Linked DNA regions of Homo sapiens: region 1 is linked to region 2. The links are contacts of gene promoters, found by promoter capture Hi-C in human tissues and cell types (Jung and others, 2019). All regions are on one chromosome and are shown on one strand. Each heading gives the region's core, a stretch centred on a gene start or on the middle of the fragment in contact. The rest is flanking DNA. Distances are from core to core; before and after follow the strand shown.

Region 1 (5,892 bases), core at 641-3,140, 130 kb before region 2:
TGAGGGGTGTGCACAGATTTGGCCTTAGCTGAACCCACATATGCATACCCAGGTATGTGCATACACTTGGATGCATACACTCATATGCTCAGACTCAGACACACACATACACACACACACACACACACACGCACACACACACACACACACGCGCGCACACACACGGAGGTGCCACTAACCACTTCTTGCCGTCCAGAAAGGGTGGAGTGAGATGGTACATCTGGAGCCACCAGAGAGGAATCCCCTTCAACTCTGCAGGAACCGCTGGCCTTTGGAAACGGGGAGAACAGCCCTTGGGGTGTGCCTGCCCATCCCCTGGCCCTCCCAGGCCTGACATTCCAGAAGCAAGTGGGGGTACATTCTGTTCTGGGGGTGCCTCTGGGCAGCTGCAACACCCCATCCTCTGAAGGGCTGATGCGATTCTGGGGCCAATCACTGGCCCTCCCAGCACTGCACCCGCCTCCTACTTCTCTCCCGCTTCCTCTGAGATTCTGGAGCGTCCAGGGCACAGGAAACCCAATCTCAAGGGGAGCCAGAGGCCCTGCCTGTAGCAATCAGAGCTGGAGAATGTAACTATTGTGCCTCCTGAAACTGAAGTCTGAGAATCTGAGACACCCTGAGGAGGGGAACGGTGGATAGATGGGGGGCTAAGGGGACGGGTCACAGAGGGGTTCTCCCCGTCTCAGCAGACAGGAGACTCAGGGGACCAAGGAAGTCCTTGAGAATGCAGGGCAGCCAGAGGGCCGGGGGATGAGGCTTGGCCAGGGTCTGGGCCCACGGGGCTTCTAGGATCTTCCTCTCCTTCTCTCCATTCCTCACCCTGCTCCACCAGCCACCATGCATGTGCACACACACATGTGCACAAACACACACACACATGCACACACACATCCTGGAGTCATCCTGAGGTGGCAGGTTTTTCCCTCCTCTGTCATCCCTAGAGTCTCACATGGTTTAAAGCCGGAGCCTGAACAAGAAGCAGAGCCCGCAAGCTGTGGGTGGGGGCAGGGATAAGGACAGGGGAACATGTCACCCCATTATCGTCCTCTCCCCTTTCCTCATTCCCTCCCTGCTCACAGATCCAAAGGGGCTTCTGCCTTTGACTTGACTGACCTGCTGGAGATGGGGGAAGAGGACATGGCAGAGGGGATAAGTGACAGGAAAGAGGAAGAAACCGAGTGACACCCACATGTGGTCTAGGCCTGCTCTGGCTGCCCCTAGGGCCTAGGCTCAAGAAAAGCCATTGTTGGGGGCGGGGGGGTAGGGAAGGCACAGGAACCTGGCAGATGAAGGGCCAGCATCTGGATGGGACATTCCCCTCTCCATCCCCTGACCCCAGGAAGAACTACTTTCTCCATTCCAACACATCCCGGCCTCTACGGGTGCCCCTGGAGCAAGTGCCAGGCCTGGCTACTACAGGACTCACAGCTCGGCAGTAAGGCTTCGGGAAGCGAGGAGAAAGCAAGTCCATCAGCTCATCTTGTACCCAGGAGACCAGCAGAGCAGTCTCACACTTCATCTGAAAGCCTCAGGCCCCACACGGTGTCGAGGTGAAGAAGGCCTGTCTCCTACAGTCCTTGGTTGCCTCCACTCCCCATGTGGAGATAGACTCATAGCCAGAAGCCTTCCAGCCACACAGCCCATCACTGCCTCCCTCATATAATGAGAAAGGTGTTCCTAAGCTTAAAATTTTCCTCCAGGAAAACAATAGAACTCCCACCTCCCTTCCATCCCCAGCAAGTGGCCCCGGAGCCCTCCAGGGAGTTCTTCTGGTGTGAGCTACTCAGCGTTCTCTGCTTGGCTCCCGTTCATTAGCAGCCGTCCCCAGCCCAGGGAGAACTCCTTTAGATGGGCCCAGGCATGGAGCGGCAGAAGAAGCCAGGAGGCACTGGGGAACTGAATGCTCAGTTGCTCTTCCCCAAGGGATGACAGGCAGTGGCCAGCAAAGGAGAGAGAGAAGGGATATGCCCCTGGTGCACAACAGAGCACCCAGCAGGTGGACAAAGGCCCACCTGCCAATGGCCACTCCAGGATCAGCCCAACAGTTAATAAATGAGACCCCCAGCCACAGCAGCAATGGGACATGCGAGTGGGCCTGCAGGCTCCTCCTGTGTCTGCCCATGGCAAGGTGACCCAGCACCAAACCTAGCACCTCAGATACCTGACTATGGAGGGAACAAGTGGACCCAGGGCATGGCAGCAGCACTGTCTGGGGTGTTTCAGAGATACCTGGGGTAGGAATTCCCATCAGAGCAGAAGAGATTGAAGATGACAGGCAAAGATCAGGCAAGGAAGAAGGCAAAGAAAAACATCTTGGGCAGGAGCCATTGGCCTGGGTCTGCTTCCCCTGTCCTCTGAGCCTGCCCTTGGCCTACCCAGGGAGGTGCCCTTGGTCTGGAGCCTGTGTCCACTGAGGGGGTACAACACAGTGCTCTACCACTGTGGATACCCTATCCTGGGTGAGCTGGCCTTGCCCCAGCACAGAGGGGCCGAAGGGGGCATGCTGAAATGGAGGGTAGGAGGAGGAAGGAGGTGGGTGGCCAGCAACGGCATACCAAGGCTCCCCCAATTCACATCCGTGCTCCAGAACCTACCAGCCTGTGACTTTGGTCAAGTTATGAACTGTTTCCTCATCTGTAAAAGGGAGATAACACCTACCATTAGCATTCCTGGGTAAGGAATAAATGAGAAAACATGTATAATAAGGTGCTTAGCTCAGGGCCTGGCTCATAGTTGGGGCTACATAAATGTCGCCTGTCCTTCCACCTGGATTACTATTTCCCTTCATCTCCATTTGCTGAATGCTTATTCCTCCTTCTCAACTCTGTTCAAATGCCACCTCCCACCCTGGTGGGGGAAGCTGTGGCTGACCCTCAGCTCCCCTCCCCAGGAGCTCACGCTCTTGAGTACATGGTGAGTGTGTCCTAGATTGCAGTTTTTGGTGTCTTGACCCAGGGACCACTGCCAGTGAACAGAGGGGCTCCCTTGGGGCCTGGCCCACTACCATCTACAAAGAGCAACAGAGAGGTTTCTCTGCAAATATAATGGCAGAGCCTGGGCAGACACCTGTACAGGCATATCCCTCCCCACATCGGTGTGCAATAGCCATCCAACGGTCTCAAGACAGTCACCATACTAGAAACAGGGGTGGGGGAGAGAGGGCCAACAGGGAAAAGGGAGGATAGAGCTTGTCCCCCTAGACTCTGGGAGTGCTAGGCCCAAGGCCTGCCCAGCCCAGCCCAGCCTTGGAATACAGAGAGCTGAGAAAACCAGGAGCACAGGCACAGGCCCATGGGCGTCCAGGCCAGGCGCCTCTCCTGGCAGTGCTGGCTGGTGCCACGATTCAGCCGGCAGCTGGAGCCAGCATTTCTGAGAGGGCCTGGGGCCAAGAGTCATGTGATGGTGGGGTCCAGGCAAGCGGCCCCCAGCCCCTGAAGCTTCTATCCCCTCCCCAACTTGACGAAGAAAAACTGACAGTGGAGAATGCCCTCCATACCCCACATGTCAAGAAAAGAGAGGGGCCCTGGGGAGGGGGGGGGTCCCATCCCAGCAAGGGGCCTGCAGAGCTGCTCTTCCACCCCCACCCGCTTTCTCTATTTCCAGCACTGCCCTTTCTGGCCCTTTGAGCTGCCCAGGACAGGACAGGCTGGCCAGACAATCACCCTCACCCCCAGCTGCTCTTAGGGCTATTAATAGTGTCCCAACCTCCCAGGGCTGGGCATCACCCTCCTCCTACCCCCAAATACACTTGCCCTTGGTCTAATTATTCATAAAGGGACAGAGTCCTCCAGACTCTAATGCCAACCTGGTATGAGAAACAGGAGGCGGAGGCTCTGCAGGCCACTCAAGGGATGCGCCTGGGACAAGCAGGAGTTTGGAGGAGGGATGCGAGAAGGCAGGAAGCCCCAGAGCCAGAGAGCAACCAAAAGACAAAACTAAAACTAAAAGATAGAGAGAAAGGGAGAGAGAGGAGGAGCCACAGTAGAGAATCAGGGCCAAAGCAAAGAAAGAAGACTGGGGCAAGAAGAATCAGAGCAGTACAGTACAAGATTCTGAGAGAGGCAGGGAAAGGGGACAAAAACAAAAAAGAGCAGAGAGGAAATTATTCCTTTGGGCGAAGAAAAAAAAAAACAGAAAGAGGAAAACTTTCCTAAAGATACTCAAGAGTGGCTTTGTGTGCACAACTGCTGGGCTGCATGCAGCTGCCAGCATCTGTCTGGTGGGCACTCAGCAGAGTGAGGAACTGGGGAGACCCCAGGACAAGGAGCCCCTACTCACCCACCCCTGAATGCTTCTGGGGAAGGGAGGGAAGGAAGAAGAAAAGGAAAAGGAGAAGGCTCAGAGAAGGAACAACTGGCTAAGAAAAGGAAGGTGGAAGAAGTGAGACCCTATAGAGCAGGAAATTCACTTTAGCCCAGGGCAGGGGAAGGTCCCTAAGCTCTCTGCCTATTTGCCTGAGGAAATCAAAAAGGACAGAGGGTCGGCAGGGATTGGGGAGCATCAGCCTCCCCCACCACCTCTCTCTGCCCCCTGCTCTCTTTCTGGCCTTAAGCAGGGTTCTGCTCCTGCCTCCCTCCACTGTTCCCTTTCCTTGGAAGAATCCATCCAGGAAACCTCAGGGCCTGGGATTAGAACTGTAGAACCCACCGACTTCAATTCACCCTGTGGGGAAGGGGAAGTGGGAGTTAGGCTGAAGCCACCTGCCTCCCCTCCTCAGGTGCTAACTTCCTCAACCCCTGTGAGAGAGCACTCAATACCCCTGTGAGAGAGCACTCAGTACCCAGGCTGGTGACTCCAAAGGGGCCTCCTTCACCCAGAGACTTGCCTTGGTGGAGCAGGGACTGACCCTGGGCTCATGGACAAGCAACAAACACAAATGCCCACCATAATCAGATGTTTAAGTGGGGCCCTTCTCCCACCTGGAGGCTGGAAACTAAACAGCCTTTCCTCCAAATCCCACCTACACAGGGAACCTCTGGCTGGTCCATGGCTGGGGAAGTGGGAGGCTCTAGCTCTGGAAGGCATGAGAGCCCCAGAGACCTGGCCACCAGGCCACTCAGGCCAGGAGGTCCTGACCAGGAACACCCCACTAGACCATCAGCCCCTTGAGGACAAGCCCTCTCTGTTGGTTTTGTTTGCTGCTACATCCCCCACATCTCAAAGCACAGCTGCAGTGGATGATAAGACTCCAAAGAGACCCTTCTAGATCCTTCTTCAAACCATGGCTACACTGACCACCCAGGGAACAGAGGCACCAGCTAGCTGACATCTTCCCCCTCCTGAAGAAAGAATAGCTTTCTTGCAGCCCAACCACCGACACTCATGTCCAGTGAATTAATGTGGAAACCCTGATGCTGCTAATCTTCCTGCAAAGCCGAGCTGGTTCCAGACACAGGACTGAACATACTTGCACCATACTCAAGGGCTGGAATGACCAGAGGAAGGAACTGGAGCCTCACTGAGAACAGCACAGCAGGGGAAGGCAGAGCACTCTCTCGCAGGCCTGCTCTTCTCCTTGCCCTGGAGACCCGAAGGCAGCCACTGTCCAGAGCTGTCCAGAGGAAATACGAGGAATCTGGGCCTTTGACTGCAAATTTCCAGCTTGGAGCCCTAAGAGCCTGGGCAGGGATGGGTTGAATAGGACGGCACCGAGTGCTGCATAGAGCCCTGGGCCTGGAATCAGAAGCCTAGGCTCCAAATCCTAGACTTGCTGCTGTTAGACCTCCAGTGTGTCTCTCCTGCTTCTTGGTGCAACACAACCAAGACCTGCTCAGCAACATGAGATGTGAGTGGGGATTTTTACAGATTTTTTTTTAACATATTTTAACTTTGAGTTTTATATACTATAAAGTACCAAGCTTGCATAAGGACAGCAAAGGCTGCTGAAGGAAC
Region 2 (5,784 bases), core at 538-3,037:
GCTCAAGTGATTCTCCTGCCTCAGCTTCCCGTGTAGCTGGGATTACAGGCACCCCCACTGCACCCAGCTAATTTTTGTGTTTTTAGAGGAGATGGGGTTTCGCCATCTTGGCCAAGCTGGTCTTGAACTCCTGACCTCAGGTGATTCACCCGCCTCAGCCTCCCAAAGTGCTGGGATTACTGAGCCTGGCCAGCAGATCTAGGATTCTAATCTACCTGTGCTGACGTAAGTCACCACTGCCCACATGTGATTACTGACCATTTGAAATGTGGTTGGTCCGAACTGAGATGTGTTGTAAGTGTAAAATACGCATCAGATTTTGAAGATTTAGTATGAAAAAAAGTGCAATTTTTTTTTTTTTGAGACGGAGTTTCGCCTTGTCACCCAGGCTGGAGTGCAATGACACGATCTCGGCTCACCACAACCTCTGCCTCCCAGGTTCAAGCGACTCTCCTGCCTCAGCCTCCCAAGTAGCTGAGATTACAGGCATGCGCCACCACGCCCTGCTAATTTTGTATTTTTAGTAGAGACGGGGTTTCTCCATGTTGGTCAGGCTGGTCTCAAACTCCCGACCTCAGGTGATCCACCCGCCTCGGCCTCCCAAAGTGCTGGGATTACAGAGGTGAGCCACTGTGCCCGGCCGAGTGCAAAATATTTTATTAGTCATCTTTTTTTTTGTAAGAGTCAGGGTCTGGCTGGCTGGGCGAGGTGGGTCATGCCTCTAATGCCAGCATTTTGGGAGACCGATGCAGGAGGATAACCTGAGCCTAGGAGTTTGAGACCAGCCTGGGCAACATGGCCAAAACCCATACTTAAAAAAAAAAAAAAAGCTGGGTGTGGTGGCGCGCACCTGCAGTTCCAGCTACTCAGGAGCCTAAGGTTGGAGGATCCTTAGAGCCTGGGAAGTCAAGGCTGCAGTAAGCCATAATTGCACCACTGCACTCCAGCATGGGTGACAGAGCAAGACCCTGTCTCAAAAAAGAAAGATGTTTTGCACTGTGTTTCTATAGGACAGTGCTAATCTAGGCCATGCAGTATTTGCACTGACGTTACTCTCAGCGCACAGGGGTGGGAGGATCTGGAAGGTTTATAATTTATGACTTCATTTCCACCAACTCTCTGTAGAACCTTGGGCAAGTCATACCACCCTCTGAGCCTCAGTTTTCTCACATGTGTAATGCGGTTATATCAGTATCTACATCATAAAGTTTTGGGGATAAATGAAATACTACACGTGAAGTACTCAGTTCTGGGCTAAGTACTACCACATACGAGGTAGTCCACACAGGTTAGGTGCCACCTTGACTTACTAGGTGAATTCCTTTTCCCTCTATAAAAAGGGACGGTACCTACCCAGCCTTCCTTTGAAATTTTAAAAGTAGCTGACATCGCCAAAATGACCATCTCTGGAGCCCACCACCCACCGCCTCTCCTAGGGCAAGAGAGAATACCAGAAGGGCAGAGGGTTCTGTAACCCAGAGACGGGGAAGTCCAAGGTCACACAGCCCGCTCGAAGTGAGGCTAGATAAAACTCAAAACAGGGCGGTGCTTCTGACCTTGAGATAATCAATTTTACCCCTCTGGTCAACCAGACGCCATTGATGGAGCCAGGGTGGAGGTGGGAACTGAGTCCCATGCACCTTTTGCGGCTCCGTCGCCACACTCAAGATGACGACACATTGAGCCCTGTTCTACAGTTAGACACATTCAAGATGGCGGTACACACTCCGGTTCCGGTTCCGGTGGCTCAGCTCCCCCCGCCCACCCGGGCCCGGACACGCTGAGCACACTGGAAGGAGTCATGGCGGATGGTCAGGTGGCGGAACTGCTGCTCCGGCGGCTGGAGGCGTCTGATGGCGGCCTGGACAGCGCCGAGTTGGCGGCTGAGCTGGGCATGGAGCACCAGGCGGTGGTGGGCGCCGTGAAGAGCCTTCAGGCGCTGGGCGAGGTGAGCCGGGCCCGTGATGCCGGACCGCCTTGCCCTTGCACCTACAGTCCCCTTGCCACGGGCGCTCTACGTCCAAGCCAAATTCCCTCAGGCCTAGTTTGGGGTAGCTGTATATGTGTCCACTCCGGGATGTGCGGGCGGGAAGTGGGACGAGTGAGGGCCCAGACGCACGGATGTTCCTCATGCAATAAACGTTTATTGAGGCACGGTCAGCGTGGGTAGAGGGTACGATGATGGACGAGGAAGTCGCGGTTGCTGCCCTCACGCAGGTTGCGACGTAATAGGAAGGTGCTTCAAGAACCAGAGTGATGGGGGAAAACAGGGGACCCAGCTGTGACAGCTGACCCAGCCTTGGGGGTCAGGGAGAGCGGCCTGGTGCAGGTGACGGCTGAGTCTGTTCTCTGTTGAGGAAAGTGATAGCACTTTAGAGATCAGTGGCCGGGATCTTGGGGGATGGCAGGCGGCAAGGGAGACCAGCATAGCTGTAATTGCAAAGCCTCTTAGGTCTTTACCTCATGAGGGAACTGGGAAGCGATAGCAGGAGCTAGAGCCGGTCAGATGAGTGTGCTATCCACATCACCTTTGGGAAGAATTGGCATGGACAGGACTGGAGGTGAAGGGATGAAAGAAGAAGCTGGCACTTCCCCAAGCTGGAGGGCATGATGTCTGGCTATGGGAAGGAAGCTTGGGGGAGGTGGGGAAGGCGTGGGATTCAGGACAAGGCAGGGGGCGCACAGATGAAGTCCAGCCTTCTGACTTGGGCAAGTGGACAGTGACAGAGTCACAGGCGTAGGATGCTGAGGGGCCCGTGGGCCACCCAGAAGGCTAGATCCATGGGGCCAGGATCTGGGCTGTTTATCCGTAGAGCTCATGTTCTGTGCCCCACTTTGGTCTCAGCTTGTTTGTCCAATCCATTCCATAATCCTGGCTGATGGCCATGTTATTCCCATTTTGCAGATGTGACAACTGATGGTCAGTAACATAATCAGTGTGAATAGAAGAGGCCGATGAGCCCAGATTTGAAATTAGGCACTCAGGCTGCAGAGCCCATAGTCCTCAATGCAGAGGAGAGATGGCAGCTGTGTTGTGTGGGGTGACAGTGCCTTGACCAATATGATCTGACATTTGTATACGTCACAGAGGGTTAAATAATATAAGGAGGTGAGGTTCAATCTAATGACAGTAATAGCCATAAAAATAATTATAGTAATTAGAATTTATGCCGGGTGCAGTGGTCACACCTGTAATCCCAGCACTTTGGGAGACCAAGGCGGGTGGATCACGAGGTCAGGAGTTCAAGACCAGCCTGGCCAAGATGATGAAACCCTGTCTCTACTAAAAATACAAAAAAAAATTAGCCAGGCGTGTTGGTGGGCACCCGTAATCCCAGCTACTTGGGAGGCTGAGGCAGAGAATTGTTTGAATCGGGAGGTGGAGGTTGCAGTGAGCCGAGATCGCACTCCAGCCTGGGCGACAGAGCGAGACTCCGTCTCAAAAAAAAAAAAAAAAAAAATTTATGCAGTGTTTGTCACGTGGTAGGCACTATATATTCTTTCTGAGTATTAATTTAGCTACTCCTTAAAATCATCTGAGGTAGAACCCATCACACCTTTCTCTTATGGATGAGAAGAGTCACTGAGAGGTTAAGCAACTTTCCTGAGGTCACACAGTAAGTGAAGGGCAGAGTTGGGATTAGAATGAAGTGGGAGCCAGGCCCTGTGCACTCTACTTACCCTTGTTGTCCTTGTCTTCATGACTCTGGACCTGGAACCTCAGTTTTTGTTTGTAATGTGGACCTCCAGGGCCCGTCTCTGACATTCTGGGCACTGACATGTGAACATTTAAACATGGAGACAGGCTGGGTATGGTGGCTCATGCCCATTATGCCAGCACTTTGGGAGGCTGAGGAAGGAGAATCACTTGAGGCCAGGAGTTTGAGACCAGCCTGGACAACATAACAACACCCTGTCTTTAAAAAGTAATTTAAAGGGCCGGGCACGGCGGCTCACGCCTGTAATCCTAGCACTTTGGGAGGCGGAGTCGGCCGATTACGAGGTCAGGAGTTTGAGACCAGCCTGGCCAACATGGTGAAACCCCATCTCTACTAAAAATACAAAAATTAGCTGGGGGTGGTGGTGGGCACCTGTAATCCGAGCTACTCGGGAGGCTGAGGCAGGAGAATCATTTGAACCCGGGAGGCAGAGGTTGCAGTGAACCGAGATCGCACCATTGCACTCTAGCCTGAGCGACAGTGCAAGACTCCGTCTCAAAAAAAAAAAGTAATTTAAAAATTAACCAGGTGTGGCGGCACATGCCTGTAGTCCCAGCTACTCGGGACTGGCGGAAGGATCGCTTGAGCCCAGGAGGTCTAGGCTGCAGTGAGCTATGATCACACCACTGCACCCAGCCTAGTGACAGGGTGAGACCCCCTTTCAAAGAAAACAAAAACAAACAAAAAAATGTGGAGACATATCAGTTCACCTAATTTTTCACATTAAAATCTGTCACAGGTTCAAAACCGACAGAATTTGTCTTCTGCCAGGTAACATCTTTAGTGGTGTACTTTACCCTGGGAGGTGTAAACTATCATTATTACTACCCCTGTGTTACATAAGGGAAATGGAGACACAGCAAGGGGAAGTCTTTCCCTTGAGACCACTTGGCTGTAAAGTTGTATAGCTGGGATGTGAACCTAGCTTTAAGGGCTGTGCTTTCAACCTGGGACCCAGCGCTGCAGAAAGGGGGTGCCTGGCTCTGAGCCTCACCCCTGCCTGGACACCCTCCCCACATTTCCCTCTAGGTCATCGAGGCTGAACTTCGGTCCACCAAGCACTGGGAGCTTACTGCGGAGGGCGAGGAGATTGCCCGGGAGGGCAGCCATGAGGCCCGTGTGTTTCGAAGCATTCCCCCAGAGGGCCTGGCCCAGAGCGAGCTTATGGTAGGAGCTGCGGGGTGAATGGGGAGTGAGTGATGGGATGAAGGTGGCCCTCGTGCCCCACTCACTGCAGCCTCTCTTTTCCAGCGACTGCCCAGTGGCAAAGTGGGCTTCAGCAAGGCCATGTCCAACAAGTGGATTCGGGTGGACAAGAGTGCGGCTGACGGGCCCCGGGTGTTCCGAGTGGTGCGTTCCTGCGGGCTGGTCAGGGGGCAGGTGGACGGGCACATGGGCCCCTGGCCCTCATACCCCTCACACTCCTTATCCTGGCAGGTGGACAGCATGGAGGATGAGGTGCAGCGGCGGCTCCAGCTGGTCCGGGGGGGACAGGCTGAGAAGCTGGGGGAGAAGGAGAGGAGCGAGCTGAGGAAGAGGAAGCTGTTGGCTGAAGTGTGAGTGGGTGCCCCCTGCAGGCTCAGGCCCCCACCACCTGCGAAGCATGGTGGAGGCATGGTGGGAGGGAGACATCTTGCCCACACCAAGCACAGGTGTGGCCAGTTTCCTCCCAGCTCGCTTAATGCCATAGTTGTCAAGCCTACGTGCCTTGGGGTCTTTGCCCATGAGGACCCTTCTGCTGAGAACTGTTTTCCCTCTGATCTTCAAGATAGGCTCCTCATCAAGTCTCTCTCCTGTGTCCCCTTAAAGAGGCCACCCTGACAGCCCTCCTCTCCCCTTGAGTTCCATGAAGCCCATCGCCCCTAGTCTTCATCTTTGGTGCTTGTTCATTTCTTTCACTGTCCTTAGTGTGGTCCAAAGTTTAATGAACACACACCAGACAGGCCTCTGGAACCTAGATGGGCTAGGGGCCGTCCTCTCACAGGACAAATGTCCCCTTTGAGCAGACACAGAGTGGCAGAGAGAAGAGACTAGAGCTGGGATGCCTAACTGAAGTTCGGGCTCT

The links. The method cuts DNA at HindIII sites, captures the fragments that hold promoters and counts their contacts. A contact is called where the count stands out against the background at its distance.
Region 1: a fragment that was not itself captured here is called in contact with the fragment with the promoter of FARSA in region 2 in 2 of the 25 tissues and cell types used here (lymphoblastoid cells and spleen).

What each region holds. Positions count from the first base shown.
Region 1 is chr19:13,061,722-13,067,613 of GRCh38, reverse strand. All of the region lies in intron 2 of NFIX (nuclear factor I X), which reads right to left. Among named protein-coding and RNA genes, the nearest start is that of LYL1, 38 kb to the left of the region's middle. The HindIII fragment of the contact is 5,516 bases long and covers 1-4,648 here.
Region 2 is chr19:12,929,714-12,935,497 of GRCh38, reverse strand. It overlaps FARSA (phenylalanyl-tRNA synthetase subunit alpha), which reads left to right and starts at 1,787. Exons shown (of 13, transcript NM_004461.3): 1 at 1,787-1,948; 2 at 4,749-4,886; 3 at 4,971-5,069; 4 at 5,157-5,275. The coding sequence starts at 1,802. It overlaps FARSA-AS1 (FARSA antisense RNA 1), which reads right to left and starts at 4,976. Exons shown (of 3, transcript NR_149078.1): 1 at 4,952-4,976; 2 at 2,461-2,528; 3 at 2,202-2,349. RefSeq lists a silencer at 447-552 and enhancers at 1,589-1,883, 1,605-2,104, 2,115-2,184. The HindIII fragment of the contact is 13,322 bases long and covers 1-5,784 here.